Regions from separate parts of the Homo sapiens genome. Here all the other regions are linked to region 1. The links are contacts of gene promoters, found by promoter capture Hi-C in human tissues and cell types (Jung and others, 2019). All regions are on one chromosome and are shown on one strand. The core of a region is centred on a gene start or on the middle of the fragment in contact, and the rest is flanking DNA. Distances in the headings are between cores, read along the strand shown.

Region 1 (3,701 bases), core at 414-2,913:
CCTACATTATTTAAATTAACATCAATATGATTTCTTTTTACCTGGAGGATATGTTTTTTTAATCTTGTCTTCTTCTGCTTCAGCAATCTGTGAAGCAAACAGGAGATAGACTTGGTTTAAAATCATTGCTCCACTACTTACCAAGTACAAGAGCCAAATGATTTAATCTCCATGGGATTTAATTGTCTTGTTTGTAAAATGTGGATAATTCCTATTTCAGAGCACTGTTATAATAATTAAATGAGATAAAATTAAGGGTAGATGCTCAGTCAGTGTTAATTTCTTTCTCCTATAATATTGTTGAAAGAGAAATCTCTGGTAAATTAGGCAATCTTACAACAGAGTGGATGTGATGCTGAGCTTACTGGGTTATTATATAGTTACTCTATGTATTCATTATACAGAACTCAATGTAAATAACTGCTAGGGCATAGAATTTACCAAAACTAGATTTCCCGTCCTAATTTCTGTCAATTAACTATTAAGTTCCTGATGTTTGTAAATTCAAAATGACCAAAATGTCACAGCATAATTACATTAAATAATAATAACTAAATCAAAATGAAATAGCATTCATAATGTTACTTTTGACCTACCTGTTCATTCAAAGGTCTTTCTGCACTTAATTCTCTATTATGTAGAGATTTGTCTAGAATAAACACATGTGAATATAAATTTAATTGTGCGTTGAAGGACAAAATATGCCTCTTATTAAATAAAATTTTTATAAAAAGGAAAAATATTAGGAGAAATAATTTTGGATGACTATGAAACAAATGCATATTAACAAAGATTATCAAGATTATACAATAATAGTAATTATCAATATTGCCTTGTTTATTATCTTGGTGTATTTCTTGAGCTGACAGAATCACACTTTTTTTTTTTTCTGACCAGAAATTTAACATATAGTTCTAACACTAGGGTTATCAGCTATTCTCAGCTAGAGAGAGCATAATTTGGATTGGTATTATTGGCACACTAAAAGCTCTTTCATCATATACTGCATATATAATGAATAGACTGTCTGAGAAAGGTTGTAAGGCAACTAGAAAACAATCCAAGCCACTTTAGGTGAAAAAGGTTCCCTTCCCTTTTCAAAATAAGATCTTTAAAAACAACCCATATTATTGCTCTATCATTTTAAAAGTGAAGAAAAAAAATCTGTCTTCTGTCTCTAAATTCGAACTGATTTCTCTGTCCGTATTCATGGATATGATTTGATCAGAAAACGCGTCAGGGTGATTTACAGCTCACGTATTATGCCAAACTTTACCTTTTCGTGGCGAAATAAAAGGAAGGTAGGAAGAAGAAAAGTGTTCACATACCTTGGCTTCCTCCAGGTTTGGGGAAAGCTTGAATCGGGAGCACTAACACCAGAATCCAAGTGCCGGTCCCGAGGAACCCCATTCTTCCACGCTCGGCTTGGGTCACAGCCCGGCGCTGGGCTCCTGGAGCTGTAGCTTTTGTTATGAATGAAAAGGAGGAGTAAAAACAGGAAGAGCCAGGAGGGTGGGTGTGGGGCGGGAGAGGGGCCGGGACTGGGCGGCTGCAGGATCTCTGACACTCGACGGTCAAGGGATAAGCAGGGTTGGGGCGCGCGGGAGTCAAGTCTCCAGGTAGAGGGGAGCGCTGTCCGCCCTGTGGGTGCTGAAGTTCCTGTGACGCGGAGACTGCGCGCCAGGGCGTAGCTTTACTCTCGCTCCCTCCTGCAGAGGAAGTGAGGAAGGAAGCGCATGCTCCATGCACGCCAGAGGCGGGAGGGGATGGCGTCGGTGACTCCAACGCTACTCCAATCCCCCGGGAATGGAACAAAGGAGGGGCGACCGGCCAGCTGGTGTATTTTCTGTGCTGCAGTCCTAGGGTGCTCCTGGGCTCAGGGTCAGCTGGCTTGTCCTAAGCGTGACAGAATTGTCCCAACCTCTCAAGTAAATGTTACTTCAAGGGCCAAATGCCTTCTCTGCCTGTGCACCTGTCAAGGAGATTTAGATAACCTTGTGCGAGGAGTTCTGCTTCGGGATTCTTCTTTTGGGATATCTGCTCCAGAATCCCTTCCTTCCATTCACCTCCTGTACCCAAAAGGTAGATATAATTATAATCTCTTTAGAAAAGCCCTGCCTTTTGTGGTCTGTGTTGACGTATCAAGCATCCCTCAGCTCTACCGAGGCTTTTGAATTGGGAAATTCAAGGAACAGTCTTCCAAATAGTCAGATTGCTGCAATACACTCTCACTCTCTGATGCTGAAACACAACAACAACAGAAACAGTCCTGAGTAGACGAGCAGCAATGGCAAATTCTCCTTTCCCCACCAAGTGGAACCTCCCCCACTTTACACACACACACCACACAACTAAATTAGAAAAAAGAAGCTGCATTTCTGTAAAATCTTGCCCAGAATTTAATTATGCCCAAAGACCTGGCTGTTCCAGGGGGTCCTTCAAGAGAGGGGATAGTCATGAAAAGCATTTTTCATCTTTACTAAGTCAGGGAGGTGCTTCCTATGTTCTGAGAATATTCCCAGAAGCCTAAGGTTATTGTATACAAGGAACTATCAAAAGACTTTAAATGATGAAAACAAGCAACATTAATGTGAGCAGGATGCTGAGTAAGCTCTTTAGTCTCTGATTTTTAAACAGAACTTGGACCTTTTCCTCTGGACTGCGGCATGCTGGGAACCAGTCTGAATAATGACCAAAGAGAAGGATTCAGCACAATCAGGCCTTTGATTTCTGCACCCTCCTTTTCAAGGAGGAAGTTATTCAAGTACCTAAAAACAAACAAACAACCAAGCTGACAAACAAATCTCCCTTGCTCCGGAGGTTTTTGAGTTTGGAAGTCACTCAAATACTTCCTTTGAGGATCTAAAGAGTATTCTAAATCTAACAGCTCCTTCAAAACAAAAAACTCTTTATTGGCAGTAATAACATAGCATTATTATCCCAGTATACTGCATTAAAAAATTAAGTCATATTTTAAAATCCCAGCTGAATGAAGGGTATATTTCCTTAGTTTCCTTTTCTTTATGATGGAAATGACAGGCTCTGTTTACCTCACACTGTTATTATGAAGATCAAATGGGTACATGTTTTGAACTAGTCATTTTGATACCAAGAATATTTTGATACAGCCTAAGAAAATAAGTCATGAAACGTTTTCAGCTTTTATGAAACATTACCCAACGCTATCTGAAATAGCCATTCACTGATCCTGAGACTCACTGACCTAATCCCTCAGCTTCACTTTGTCCTTTGTCCCATTCCTGACTCATTTATCTCCTCAATACATGTTTGCAATTGGGAGAGATTCAGGATGGGATGAAGGTCAGGGATGTCTGTTGAGTACATTGCATTGCTTGCCCAAAAGAAAAAGGGTATTTTGTCTCTTTCTGCCATTTGGACTTAAAGTGATTATGTTAAATGGACACTAAATCTAGGATCATGTTATGTTTCTGATCAAATGAGTGGTGGAGCATTGAGTAAAACATAGGCATGAATTAGTTTACATTATTCAGCCTTATGGATGATACCACTGGACTTAGTATAGGTCTGTGAATGGAGTAATCCTAAATTGTATTTATTCATCAATTCACTTAACAGGTGTTTATTGAGCATCTGAAATGTACCAGGTATTGAGATAGTTGCTGGGTGTACAAAGACAAGTAAGACACTAGTCACTGCTAGTCCTATAGCCTAGTAGAGAG
Region 2 (3,327 bases), core at 677-3,176, 140 kb before region 1:
TGTGGTAGATTGAAATATTGTTCCCACATATTTGCTCTCCTTTAGAGGAATAGACAGGCTTGCCCACTACTATGTGACTTCCAGTGCTGCCCCGCAGGCATTCCAGGCTTGGCTATGATCCCATGATGGGATTTTCCTCCTCTCTTCGGTTAAATGTCATATTGTAATCACAAAGTTTAGAAACATGAATCTTGCTTTGGTCAATAAAATATAAGTGGAAGGGACAATCCGACAGTTCTGGGTGGAAGCTTTAAGAGTCACTGCCTTTCTCTACTAGTGTGCCTGCTCTTTCCCTCCACCAAGAGAGACAAGTTCTGAATAGAGGCTGGTCCTTCTGCCTGGGTTCTAGAATAAGAAATTACATGGATCAGAGCCTCAGCCACTAGCTGACATAATATATAATGTGAGCGAAGGGGAAACTGAGGTTTAGGTTCGTTTGTTACTATAGACTTACTTAGCAAAAGCTGACTACTATAGTGCCTAATCAAAGAAACATGATGATCTGAACTAGAAGTGGTATGGCACCCCCAACCGTCTGCATTTAACCCACTTCAAGTAATGGAAAACTGTTGAAGTTCAACAGGCTAACACACTACAGAGAACAAATCTGAGGCCTTCAGGTAAAATATTTGAACAAGGGACAGAGTATGGTTCCCATTAGTGTTCAGGGTTTGGTTAGAGTGAAAGTGATTGATAAAATGACACTTCAACTCTACTTTATGTGTTAATATTACAAGCTCTAATTAGTGTTATCTCTAAACTTCCAGCCAGAATAACTCAGAAAGCATGTCACACTGAATCATCGTATGCTAATTAATAACAGCAGCACTTTTCTTGTTATCAAAGAGTTCCTTTAGGAAATAGTTACTTTGGTATATGTAAGCATATTTTGTGTGTATGTAAAAACGTGTATTTATAGGAGAGCTGAGAAAAACTAAAGACAAAAATTTGAAATGAAAAGGGAAGGATTTCATTATGGAAGCTTGGAGGTAGGAATCCTATGGAAGCAGTGGGAGGTAGCAATCACAGAAGACAAACATCATGGCTGGGTACATACCGGTTTTTTTTTTTTTTTTTTTTTTGAGATGGAGTCTCTCTCTGTCACCCAGGCTGGAGTGCAGTGGCGTGATCTTGGCTCACTGCAAGCTCCACCTCCCGGGTTCACACCATTCTCCTGCCTCAGCCTCCCAAGTAGCTGGGATTCCAGGTGTGCACAACCATGCCTGGCTAATTTTTGTATTTTTAGTAGAGACGGGGTTTCACCATGTTGGCCAGGCTGGTCTCAAACTCGTGACCTCAGGTGATCTGCCTTCCTTGACCTCCCAAAGTGCTGGGATTACAGGCATGAGCCACCACGCCTGTGTGCATACAGTTTTACAGGAAAGATTCAAGCACACTTTTTGGCCTCAAGTGCCCCTTTTTCTATAACCCATCTCTGCCTGTTAGAAGCCTCCTCATGTTTCATTGTCCATCTCAAATGTCTGTTCCCCACTCAACCTTCACTAATGCCATCAGCTGGAATTAATTTTGCCTTTCCCATATTTTCATACCCCATTATGCCTCCATTAGAAGTGCACTGAATACACATTTCAGCCAAATGCCAAAAGGGCCAAAAAATAAGTCACTCTTCAGCTGAAGCCAAAGTTGATGACAAACATCACTATTAAAGAATAAACTTCTGGGATATGCACATAAACCTAAAATATTATCCCCAAATTTTAATACTATTTTAATAATATTAAAAATGTTAGTGCTAAAACTGTTCAGTTTAACATTTACTATAGAAGCAATAAATTCCCAGTGCTGTCCATTGTTAGACTCTCCTACAGTCACTGCAGAAAGCCAAATTTCAGCTCAGGTGAGTGAATGAATATGATCCCTGTCATAAATGGAATTAAATAAGAATTAAATTCAGGTCTTTAAATGATAAATGCTAGATGCCCCAAACCCTTCTACCAAGACCAGAGTTGTGATATGATTTAACTTCTGCTTACTTTTCCTTGTCTTTATTTATTTTTATTTATTATTATTATTTGTTTTTGAGACAGAGTCTCACTCTGTCGCCCAGGCTGGAGTGCAATGGCACGATCTTGGCTCACTGCAACCTCCACCTCCTGGGTTCAAGCGATTCTCCTGCCTCAGCCTCCTGAGTAGCTGGGACTACAGACGTGCACCACCACACCTGACTTATTTTTGTATTTTTAGTAGAGACAGGGTTTTGCCATGTTGGCCAGGCTGATCTTAAACTCCTGACCTCAAGTGATCCTCCAACCTCGGCCTCCCAAAGTGCTGGGATTACAGGTGTGAGCCACCGCGCCTGGCCTCCTTGTATTATTTGAATTTTTTATAAACATTTATTGGCTTGAAAACAATGTATTGTTTTTTCTAGGTTATCTAGCCAATGGATTCCTTCTTGATATTTGTAGTGATTGTCAGCTTATTTTCCTATTTGCTTAAAAGTCTTAAATAATTGTTTCTTTTTGTCTTTTACTAAATTCTTATTGATACATTATAATTGTACATATGCATGGGAGTACATGTGATATTTTGCTACATGATACAATGTGTAATAATCAAACCAGGGTAATTGGTCATCATCTCAAACATTGATTATTTCTTTGTGTTGAGAACATTTCAAATCTTCCAGCTATTTTGAAATATGCAATACATTATTGACAACTACAGTCACCCTACTGTGCTGTTGAACCACTAAAACTTATTCCAAGTGTATTTTTGTACCCATTAACTAAACTGTCTTCATTTTTATCCTCCTTAAGTTTTTAATTTGTTTGTTTGTTTGTTTGTTTTTAGATGAAATCTCGCTCTGTTGCCCAGGCTGGAGTGCAGTGGTGCGACCTTGGCTCACTGCAACCTCTGCCTCCCGGGTTCAAGTGATTCTCCTGCCTCAGCCTCCCGAGTAGCTGGGACTTCAGGCGTGCACCACCACACCCAGCTAATTTTTTTGTATTTTTAGTAGACACAGGGTTTCACCATGTTGGTCAGGCTGATCTCAAACTACTGACTTCAAGTGACCCACCCACCATGACCTCCCAAAGTGCTAGGATTACATGTTTGAGCCATCGCACCCAACCAGTTCTTTAGAGAAGTTTTACAAGTGTTTACCCTTCAAAAAGCTTAAGGTTCTATAAAAATGTTATGAACCTTTCCTAAATTCCTGGCTTTTAAAGTGATGCATCCATAAGTGAGCCTAAGTACATAAAAGAAACTTGTGGTATCAGGAGGCTGGGCCAAAATGTGTGCATTACTAGAACATGAAAAGCACCATCAGGGGATTACTTTTTAAATTTCTTTTTCAGGTTGTTCATT
Region 3 (3,716 bases), core at 1,172-3,671, 220 kb before region 1:
ATAGCCATCTAAATTCTCTTAAAATGATCTAGGGAGAGTATACACCTTTACATTGTATACACTGTTATATACACTGAGTTAATATTCTAGATACCCCAAATGTCAGCTCTCCTTTCAGCCCAGCATCTTCCAACAGGGATCCCTGACAGCCCGCCTCCCATCCCCATCCTGAGTCGCCAAGCCCTACACAGCAGCGTGGGCTGTAGCTTCCTCGACGTTATTATTGTAGAACATTGACCTGATTGTCAATCTTGAGCTCTGCCAGGGTTTCATTATCTCTTAACGCATCAATCAGTGCCAGAATCCCAACTCCCGTGATAAAGTTGGACTCCACATTTAAGCTCTTCAAAGTTTTGTTCACTTTCAGCATTTCTGCAAAAGCCTAGAAATTAGAGAAAATATTAAGAGATTAAAATTTGATACAGTACCTACTACATATTGTACATGCCATAAATAAATACATTAATTAACTGCCTTAATGTTTGTCATTAGTTGTTTCAGTTTGACACAGTAGCCCATAGCTCTCACATGTACAGTTGTCCCTCAGTATTTGTTGGGGGTTGGTTCCAGGACCATCTGCAGATACCAAAATCTTCAGATGCTCAAGTGCCTTATAGAAAATGGCATAGTATTTGCATATAACCTTCACACATGCTCCTGTATACTTTTCATTACCTCTAGGTTACTTAATATACCTAATACAATGCCTACACATCACTTCATTTTTGTGGATTCAACATAGTACCTGGCATACAGCAAATTCAGATTTTGCTTTTGGAAATTCATAGAATTTTTTTCCAAATATTTTTGATCTGAAGTTGGTTGAACCCATGGATGACTGTATCTACTTTTCTTTCTTTTTTTTTTTTTTGAGACAGGGTCTTGCCCTGTCACCCAGGCTGGAGTGCAGTGGCAGGATCACAGCTCACTGCAACCTCTGCCTCCTGGGCTCAATTGATCTTCCCACCTCAGCTTCCTGAGTAGCTGAGACTACAGTTGTGTGCCACCATGCCCGGCTAATTTTTGTATTTTTTGTAGAGATGGGGTTTCACCATGTTGCCCAGGCTGGTCTCAAACTCCTGGGCTCAAGCAATCCACCCACCTCGGCTTCCCCAAGTGCTGGGATTACAGGTGTGAGCCACTACACCTGGCCTGTACCTATTTTTCATATGTACCCAGTCATAATCTTTTGATTTTTTGGTCACATGTAATTCCCCGTTGGTGACATTCTCTACTCCTCATTCCCTACTTCATGCTTCTTTCTTCTGTCTCTCTCACTCTTTCAGTTTCTGTGTTAGACCAACTTCATCAATGTCGCTGTAACATCTTTTCTTATTTGGGTCTTGCTGTAGCTGGATCATGTGAAGCCAAAATGAGGGTAAATTATGTACTAATTTCCAAGGCAGGGGCCAAAAGAAATGGTCAAGGCAGAAGGCCAGAAAAGAACACAGATAACCAGAACCAGAAGAGCACAAAGGCCATTGAGAAGAAGGGGCTAATAAAATATTAAATTCCTCAAGTAATGGTATGTCTTCAATCTGCTTCTATTTCATTTCTCATAGGATACAGTACAGTGTTAGACATTTGACTCAGTGCTTAATAAGTACCATATTGATTAATTAACAGAAGCCTACAAGTGAAAAAAGAAAGAGGAGGGAGACTGGGAAGGAAAGAAAAAGAGACAGAGGTAGGAAGAGAGAAGAAGGGAAGGAAGGAGGGGAAGGAAAGAGAGAGAAAAAAGAACAATGATCATGAGTTTATATAAAACAGCCCCTTAGAGGGATCAAAAGCAAGGTTAAACTACAGAAAATATGGGTAAGACCAAGCTTAAAGTTAAAGGAAAGGCAATAGGGCGTAGAGATACTAAAAAAACTGTGGCTGGTATCTACATACTTGTCCTTTCTATTAGCAACAACTAGCTATGTGACCTGGAACAAATCCCTTATCCATACATGTATTCGAATATTACTGATGGTCTATTATTTGATTAGCACTGTCCTAGAGATTCAGAGATAAAACACATTGGTCCCTGCCTGGCAGAATGTTCATTCTAGCTGGGGAGGGACACAGATAATAAAAGTAAGCAAAGTGCAATGTTAGAGGGTAAAAAGAAAAAAGGCACAATAGGGTAGATGGGGAATACTGGGGGTGGGAATGGGGTTGGTATTTTATATAGCACGGTCAGGAAAAGCCTCAACTAGAAGGTGACATTTGAGCAAAGAGTCAAAGTGATAAGACAAAGCTAAGTGGATTATTTTAGGAAGAAAGTTCAAGGCAGAAGGAACAAATGTACAGGCCCTGATTTGGGAGTCCACATGGCATGCTGAAGAAGGCTGTATGGCTAGAGTAGAATGAAAGAAAGGGCAAGTAAATGAGATGAAGTCCACTCATGTGAAGCCTTATAAGGCCACTGAAAGATTTTTATTTTTACTCTTAATGAGATGGGAAGCTGCTAGAGGGTTATCCGAATAGGAATGAGGTCATTTAACTTAAGTTTTAAAAGAATCACTCTTGGTGCTATGTAAAGAACTGACTTTGGGGTAGGTAAAATAGATGAAGGTAACCCAATTAGGAGGCTGTTGCAATAATCCAGGTGGGAAAAGATGGTGGCTTGGGTCAAGGTGGTAGTTGTGAAAATGGTGAGAAGTGGTTGGATTCTGAAATATTTTGAAGATAGGGCCAAAGGTAGGTTTAAGTTGCAAGAAAGGGATGTCGAGAATGATTCCATTAGTTTTTTGTTTTTTTTTTTTTTTTTGCTGGGCGTGGTGGCTCACGCCTGTAATCCTAGCACTTTGGGAGGTTGAGGTGGGCGGATCACAAGGTCAGGAGCTCGAGACCAGCCTGGCCAATATGGTGAAACCACATCTCTACTATAAATACAAAAATTAGCCAGGCGTGGTGGCGCATGCCTGTAATCCCAGCTACTCAGGAGGCTGAGGCAGGAGAATCGCTTGAACCCGGGAGGCGGAGGTTGCAGTGAGCCGAGATTGCGCCACTGCACTCTAGCCGGGGCAACAGAGTGAGACGCTGTCTCAAAAAAAAAAAAAAAAAAAATTTTTTTTTTTTGTTTGCCTGAGCAATGAAAGATTGAAATTGCATTTAGTAAGATAGAAAACAGCAGAGAAAAGCAGGCACAGGATGGAAGTCAGGAGTTTGAGGACTTACATGTAAGATGTCCATTAGACATCCAAGTAAAGCTGCTGAGGAGGTAGCTGGACATGAATACGGAGTTCAGGAGAGAGATACAAACTGTAGATAATAACACTGGGAGTCATCAGCAAGTATATGAAGATAATATATATATTTCTGAGATTACCCAGAAAGTCAGTGTAGACTGAGAAAAGAAGGACCACGTTCTGGGCCATTCCAATATTTAGAAGTTGAAGAGATATGGAGAAACCAGTACAGGGCTTTGAGAAGGAATGTCCACTGAGGTAAGGGGAGCCCCCAAGGGAGTGAGTGATATTCTCAAAGCCAATGAAACAAAAGGTTTATACCATGATCAAGTGGGATTTATCTCAGGAATGAAAGGCTGGTTCAACATATAAAAGTCAATCAATACACCACATTGACAGAATAAAGGACAAAAACCATATGAACATCTCAAGAGACACAGCAAAAGCATTTAACAAAAATCCACCACTAAGGATCCATAAATGGAATCCTCTGAAGATGTTAAAATAATGTGGTAGATCCCTATGTATTGATACAACAAA

What was found. The method cuts DNA at HindIII sites, captures the fragments that hold promoters and counts their contacts. A contact is called where the count stands out against the background at its distance.
Region 2: a fragment that was not itself captured here is called in contact with the fragment with the promoter of SCG3 in region 1 in 4 of the 25 tissues and cell types used here (H1 embryonic stem cells, dorsolateral prefrontal cortex, mesenchymal stem cells and 1 more).
Region 3: a fragment that was not itself captured here is called in contact with the fragment with the promoter of SCG3 in region 1 in 1 of the 25 tissues and cell types used here (liver).

The regions. Positions count from the first base shown.
Region 1 is chr15:51,679,465-51,683,165 of GRCh38, reverse strand. SCG3 (secretogranin III) reads right to left here and starts at 1,663. Exons shown (of 12, transcript NM_013243.4): 1 at 1,329-1,663; 2 at 597-649; 3 at 42-87. The coding sequence starts at 1,410. The HindIII fragment of the contact is 9,018 bases long and covers 1-3,701 here.
Region 2 is chr15:51,822,668-51,825,994 of GRCh38, reverse strand. No RefSeq gene overlaps it. Among named protein-coding and RNA genes, the nearest start is that of TMOD3, 5.3 kb to the left of the region's middle. The HindIII fragment of the contact is 5,527 bases long and covers 1-3,327 here.
Region 3 is chr15:51,896,821-51,900,536 of GRCh38, reverse strand. It overlaps TMOD3 (tropomodulin 3), which reads right to left. Exons shown (of 10, transcript NM_014547.5): 8 at 239-382. Among named protein-coding and RNA genes, the nearest start is that of TMOD3, 69 kb to the right of the region's middle. The HindIII fragment of the contact is 5,912 bases long and covers 1-3,716 here.